Linked DNA regions of Homo sapiens: region 2 is linked to region 1. The links are contacts of gene promoters, found by promoter capture Hi-C in blood cells and fetal thymus (Javierre and others, 2016). All regions are on one chromosome and are shown on one strand. The core of a region is centred on a gene start or on the middle of the fragment in contact, and the rest is flanking DNA. Distances in the headings are between cores, read along the strand shown.

Region 1 (3,553 bases), core at 523-3,022:
TCAACCCCCTAACGAGGTTCATGTATTAACTAACATGTTGTCTCCACCAGCTCCTGCACACTGTCTGCTTTTGGGTTCGAAACTTTATTTTTCCCCCCTAGCGACACTCCAGGGAAACCTTAACGTTACAGAAGATGAATAAACGAGTTTTTTCTCAGCATAGTCCCGTTTATGGCTTTATTGCTACCCATTGATTACTCCGCTTTGTTACACAGAAGGAAAAGATCATAAAATCCGGCGACATCCGGGTTCTTGTTATAGCCAGCTTTCCCCCCCCCCAACCCACCCAAAAATGGTGGGGGGGGGGGGATATGAGCTTTCTCTGCTCCCCGCACACTCCCCACCACCCTTCTTTGTCAACTCAAGGCATTTTCAGCCTATATCACGATATCAAATTAAGTTTGGACTAATCAGGAGAAAACCCCCATCTGCACACTTTCCGCTGTTTCAGTTCGCCTACTGCGGCTCCCTCACAAGCCTCGGATTCAGCTGCCTTTTCGTAACCGTCTCTTCCCTTTTTTTAGCCCCAAGATGGGGGAATAAAATGGGCGTTGAGGTTGCTGAGAGGCCCATCCCCACCACGGGTGACTGGCACTTGGGTGAGAGCTCCTTAGAACCCCTTTCTGAAGTCTCCAAGCCTCATAGCTCAGGTCCAGGGGCGCCTCCACTGGCGGTGCCCTGAGTCTGGAGGGGGCAGGGGGGCTTCTGACCAAGGCAGGGGCTTGAGCCTGCAGGAAGCTAACTGTCCATCAGAGCCCCACCAGCCTTCTCTTTCTGGCTGGATCCTATGTGAATTACCCCACAGGCCCTCACTGGCTCCAAATAATAAATTCTCACCAACATAAACAGGAGTTGATGTCTCTAGAAAGATTCTCAGAGTTTTCGTTCTTCCTCTCTCTCTCTTTCTCTCTGTCTTTCCCCCTCCGGTGCCACCTCCCTACATTTTACTTCTTTTTCTCCTTTTTCTATTGCATTTTTTATACATTTTCCCTTTTAGGCAAAAATGCTGGAAGAGTTTTCCCAACAGAGGGGTCCTGAGAAGGAGGCAGAAGGGAGCCAGGAGGCAAAGGAGAGCAGATGCGTGGCCCATTTGCCCACTCCAGCTCTGCCACTGTACCCTGAAGTCTTGCCCCTTTAGACCTAGTTGTTCCCCACATCCCTACTACATTCAAGACTCTCAGCCACACTCTACTTACTCAGGGGAACAGGTTTTATGAAATTTCTTTCTACTTTTGATTTTTTTTTAATTATTGGTGAAAAAAATACTAGTTTAGTGATGGGACTCACTCCATGGAGTGTCAAAACAGGATTTCCTGCAGGATTTCTAGGGACCCCCCTCCTGTGCTGGGAGGGAGTTCTTCCCTTGGAGAAATCAGGATGTAATTTTAGAAGGGGGCAGATATAAAACATGAAACCAGATTGAAAATACAGGGGTTTCTCTAGCCCTGGCTCTGGCCACAGCACAGCAAAGTTAGCTGGGGCTGAGAGATTTCCTGGTAGTACAGCTCTCCTTCCCTGAGTCCCAAGGCCCTGCTCAGGGACATGCACCCCTCCTTCACCACCAAACCAGTTCCCTTACATATATATATATATATATATATTTTTTAAAAGAAATCCAAGTCTTACTTTCAAAGCACACACTTAGTCTCAACTAGGGAATCAACAGAAGCAGAAGCGATTTTTTTCCCCCTTCCTGACATCTGGCTTGCGATTGGCTGGGAGGGGGTCAGCTGACTTTGTCATTTTGTCTGTCCTGGATTGGAGCCGTCCCTATAACCATCTAGTTCCGAGTACAAACTGGAGACAGAAATAAATATTAAAGAAATCATAGACCGACCAGGTAAAGGCAAAGGGATGAATTCCTACTTCACTAACCCTTCCTTATCCTGCCACCTCGCCGGGGGCCAGGACGTCCTCCCCAACGTCGCCCTCAATTCCACCGCCTATGATCCAGTGAGGCATTTCTCGACCTATGGAGCGGCCGTTGCCCAGAACCGGATCTACTCGACTCCCTTTTATTCGCCACAGGAGAATGTCGTGTTCAGTTCCAGCCGGGGGCCGTATGACTATGGATCTAATTCCTTTTACCAGGAGAAAGACATGCTCTCAAACTGCAGACAAAACACCTTAGGACATAACACACAGACCTCAATCGCTCAGGATTTTAGTTCTGAGCAGGGCAGGACTGCGCCCCAGGACCAGAAAGCCAGTATCCAGATTTACCCCTGGATGCAGCGAATGAATTCGCACAGTGGTGAGTTTTACAGCTCCGAGATATAAATTAAATAAACTGAACTGGCTTTATGACCGGCTTCCCTAGAAGAACGGGCGGAGAGAGTTTTTTATGGCCCCATAAAAACAATCACGCTCGTCTCCTCACCGAGACAGGGCCCCCTCTTCTGCCCCCTCAGCTCGCCTCTCGCTCGCTTGCAGGGGCCTGGCCCCCTTGGCCCCTGACGGATTGGAGGGCCCCAAGGCGGGCTGAGGGGGCAGGAACAGGGCAGGGGATGAGGGGAGGGAGCAGAAGATAGGGGAGCCCCCCAAAGTGGAGTCAGTCTGAGGAGAAGGGAGGGGGAGAGGAGAGGCAGATAAGTGGGGAGAAGTTTCCAAGGAACTAGGATGCTTGGGGAGATGGGGGAGCCCAGTCCTTGAGAAAGGGGGCCCTCATCCCCATTATCTGGGATTTTTCAAAAATCTGCTTTTAGACTTGCAGCTTTCTGTTTGCCTTTTGCCCCGCCCCCCCGCCCCCCCCCCCACCACACACCTTTCTTTGGGACACACAGGTCCCACCTTATAGGAGGTCTGAAGTTGGGGTCCTCGCTGTACCCCCAGTGGGGGTGGGGCAAGGCAAAAGGGAGAAGGCTAGAGCCCTAAGGAGGCTGTGAGCTGCTGGCCAGGTTGGGAGGGTCAGGACTTTGCTAGGCGAAACAGTCTGCAGAGGACGCTTTGCTGATTGCTTTTAGTGTGTTTTGTGCCCGGATCTTTAGGGGTCGGCTACGGAGCGGACCGGAGGCGCGGCCGCCAGATCTACTCGCGGTACCAGACCCTGGAACTGGAGAAGGAATTTCACTTCAATCGCTACCTAACGCGGCGCCGGCGCATCGAGATCGCCAACGCGCTTTGCCTGACCGAGCGACAGATCAAAATCTGGTTCCAGAACCGCCGGATGAAGTGGAAAAAAGAATCTAATCTCACATCCACTCTCTCGGGGGGCGGCGGAGGGGCCACCGCCGACAGCCTGGGCGGAAAAGAGGAAAAGCGGGAAGAGACAGAAGAGGAGAAGCAGAAAGAGTGACCAGGACTGTCCCTGCCACCCCTCTCTCCCTTTCTCCCTCGCTCCCCACCAACTCTCCCCTAATCACACACTCTGTATTTATCACTGGCACAATTGATGTGTTTTGATTCCCTAAAACAAAATTAGGGAGTCAAACGTGGACCTGAAAGTCAGCTCTGGACCCCCTCCCTCACCGCACAACTCTCTTTCACCACGCGCCTCCTCCTCCTCGCTCCCTTGCTAGCTCGTTCTCGGCTTGTCTACAGGCCCTTTTCCCCG
Region 2 (3,553 bases), core at 689-3,188, 170 kb after region 1:
ATCCGCCCACCTCGGCCTCCCAAAGTGCTGGGATTTCAGGCATGAGCCACTGCGCCCGGCCGCAGACTAGCCATCATTTAAAGCCAGATACCAAGTCCTCCACTTCCATGAAGGCTTCTCTGATCACACAAACCCCAAGTGATCATAATCCTACAGCTCTCAATGCTGAAAGGCACCTAAAGAAATCAGGTCTGTCTTACCCATCTTCAGGAGATAAGGCTTCACCATCCCCGTTTTATAGATGAGGCAACCGAGGCCCAGGATCAGTTAATGTAGGTTTCCCAGAGCAGAATAGCCAGCAAGTAGGGAGGAGATGAAGGCCCAGGGCACACCTCTCCACACCCCCAGCTCCCACTGCCCCTTGTCATTCATTTAGCAGGGAGCAATGCCCTGTTCTGCACCACTCTCGCATGGCTAGTGAGCTGACCATTGGGCATCGTTGCTCCCCTTCTGGGTTGGGATTTCAGTCTCCCATGACTCCCTCGGCTTCAGCCATACAGAACTACTGCCGGTTCCCTAAATTCTCCTTGCCCTTTCTTAGCAACATGTCTTTGCCTGTGGTAATCCCTCTGACAGGACTGCCTTTTTCTCCACCCACTGCTGAACCTGGCAAACTCCAGCTCATCCCTTAAAACCCATCTCAACCATCACCTCCTCTGTGAAGCCTTTTCTGATGTTCTTCGTCAGATCCCAGCAACCTATTCAAACGTCTGAGGCAGCACTTGTCACACTGCTGCTGACACCGCAGCCTCCCTCCCTAGCCACAAGTCCTTCAAGGGCAAGGACCACCATGTGCTATTCAGCTGTCTCCCCAGGATACACACAAATACAGGCACACATTTAATTGAACCAGATTTTATTATCAACTTCCTTCCCATCCCAGGCCCACAGAACAGAAGCATCAGCCTAGTGGGGAGATCAGAAAGAAAGACTGAGAAGAAAACAACTCAGGAGATGATCGGGGGTACAGCACGTGCATTAGTGCTCTTGATCATCTCTTTCACCTAACTTAATGCTTAGTAAAAGAAGGAAGGGGCTGGGTGCGGTTGCTCACGCCTGTAATCCCAGCACTTTGGGAGGCCAAGGCGGGCGGATCACGAGGTCAGGAGATCGAGACCATCCTGGCTAACATGGTGGAACCCCGTCACTACTAAAAATACAAAAAATTAGCTGGGCGTGGTGGTGGGCGCCTGTAGTCCCAGCTACTCAGGAGGCTGAGGCAGGAGAATCGCTTGAACCCAGGAGGCAGAGGTTGCAGTGAGCTGAGATCATACCACTGCACTCCAGCCTGGGCAACAGAGCGAGACTCCGTCTCATAAAAAATAAAGAAGGAAGGAAGGGAGGAAGAGAGGAAAGTAAAGGAACAGAGGAAATAGGAAATAGAGCTGAAGGAGAAAGGGGAAGAAAGAAGGAAGGGAGAATAAAAAAAAAAAGTAAGAAAAGAGGTGGATGCAGGGTAGAAAGTAGAGCCAGAGAAGGGCCTTGTGGGAAGAGGGAGGGGAGGAAACAGGAGGAGCCAGGGGAGCGGGAGGCCAAACTTTTGACTCTGGAGCATGTCCAGCAGAGATCCTGGCCTTGAGCCTTAGTATCATTCCTGCCACCATGTTCCAATCTGGGAAATGGACACATCTCCCCTTCTCCAGGAACAAAGGAGTCTGGGCGGGAGCACCTGCTGTGCTGTGCTCCCCCCCCCCCAGAGGCCCTTTCACATCTGCCGTCTCCCAAAGCTCACCACAGCCCTGGGAAGTAGGATTTCTTATTCCACCCTTCCCTTCTGATGCGGGGATTGAGACAGAGCGGTCCGCCATGCGGCTCCAACAGGTAAGGTCTGACTCCAAAGGCCTGCTCTTCCCTTGACCCCAGGGTCCCCTCAGCATTGAAGACAGAAGAGGCAAATGACATTTCATGTCCCACTTGGAAAGTCAAGGTGCAGAAAACAGAGGGGACCAGACTCCTTCATATCCTGCGCAGCGTCATCTCCTGCCGCAAGAAGCACCCCACCTGCCGCAAGAAGCACTCCACCCGCATGACTCAGTCTTTGCCCAGTAGGTTGATGATAACCTAAGAAGCTGAAGACCTCACAGGGGCTCTGAAAGCCAACTGAAGTAGATGCAGCAAACTGTTCCATCATGTCATCCTTCCCTCTGCCTTGGGTCACCAGCCAAGGGAGGGAGTGGCTCAGGTGTTTTCCTTTCCACCCCTTTGTAAGCCCCCACGCAGATCTCCTCCCCATCCCAGAAGCCCAAGGAGCCAGCAATATCTGTGGTTCCCTGAGGTTCGGAGAGACACAGTAGCAAATAACTGTACCCAGGCCCCACTCCCCACTTCCAGGGATGTATAGCTTCGGGGTGTGGAGCACAGAGGACTTTTCCCAGAGCCTCACCCCAGATGAACAGCCAACTTCCCTTTGTTCAGCCTTCCTCAGATACTCAAACCCAGCAGCCCATGGCCTTCTCTGTCAGGAAGTCCTTCCTGATGTCTAACTTACATCTTTCCTGCTGCTGTCTATCCAGCCCTTAGCAGTGACAGGAGAGCAGTCTGAGCTCTAATGATCAGGGAATGGGGACAAGAACAAGTACTTCCCTTCAAGCCTTGGGTAGGGGAGTAGTAAGCAAAGAAAGAAGAGTGGCTCACTCAGCCTCATCTCTCCCGGCCTGTAGCAGTAGAAATGGAGGGTAGACAACTGGAAGGACTTCCTAGCCAAGCAAAGGGAGGTACTTCTGGAATAGGATTATAAAGTGCAAAGGCTGCGCCCTTTCTGATGGCCTCCCAGCCTGGCAGAGACCCTTCAGTGGCAGCTTCAGAAGGATAACCGGCACTTCCAGAAAAGCTCAGGGTGCTGGGATTACTGGGAACCCTTGCAGCTCCAGCAAAAAGAAAAACCTGGTCCTGGAGCCCCCTTGTGGCCGTGCAGAGGCAGGACAGGCAGTTCCACCTCCCACCACCACACCCGTGCTTAGAGCTGGGGCCCAGGGTTGCTGATGCAGAGGACAGGGAACCCAGGGCCCCACCTTCTGTGAGAGGCCAAATCGGCAGCCCCAGCCCCGAGGGCACCTGATCAGGAAGGAGTAGGGCCCAGAAGGAGCACTGGAAGAGGACACAGGCTAACCCCATTCTGTTCCTAATCTGCCGCTCTCCATCTGGTGACCCTGGGCACACCTCCCCACAGAGCCTCAGTGACCTCATTCATTAAAAGGAAGAAAAAGCCGGGCACGGTGGCTCACACCTGTAATCCCAGCACTTTGGGAGGCCGAGGCGGGCGGATCACGAGGTCAGGAGATCGAGACCATCATGGCTAACACGGTGAAATCCTGTCTCTACTAAAAATACAAAAATTAGCTGGACGTGGTGGCACATGCCTGTCCCAGCTACTCAGGAGGCTGAGGCAGGAGAATCGCTTGAACCAGGGAGGCGGAGGTTGCAGCGAGCCGAGATCATGCCACCGCACTCCAGCCTAGGCAACAGAGCGAGACGCCGTCTCAAAAAAAAAGTAAAACTCCCTCTGGCCCACCATTTTACCTTAAAGAAGTGTGGAAAGAACCAAATGCAATGA

The links. The method cuts DNA at HindIII sites, captures the fragments that hold promoters and counts their contacts. A CHiCAGO score of 5 or more calls a contact.
Region 2: a contact is called between a fragment that was not itself captured here and the fragment with the promoter of HOXC6 in region 1, in 16 of 17 cell types (naive B cells, naive CD8 T cells, total CD8 T cells and 13 more). The highest score is 20.7, in naive B cells.

Annotation. Positions count from the first base shown.
Region 1 is chr12:54,026,668-54,030,220 of GRCh38, forward strand. It overlaps HOXC6 (homeobox C6), which reads left to right and starts at 1,773. Exons shown (of 2, transcript NM_004503.4): 1 at 1,773-2,254; 2 at 2,988-3,553. The coding sequence starts at 1,855. The coding sequence ends at 3,295. It also overlaps a transcript of HOXC4 not described here and a transcript of HOXC5 not described here. The HindIII fragment of the contact is 15,214 bases long and covers 1-3,553 here.
Region 2 is chr12:54,198,597-54,202,149 of GRCh38, forward strand. LOC105369777 (a long non-coding RNA gene) reads left to right here. Exons shown (of 3, transcript XR_944984.2): 3 at 1,864-3,553. Among named protein-coding and RNA genes, the nearest start is that of SMUG1, 11 kb to the left of the region's middle. The HindIII fragment of the contact is 6,102 bases long and covers 1-3,553 here.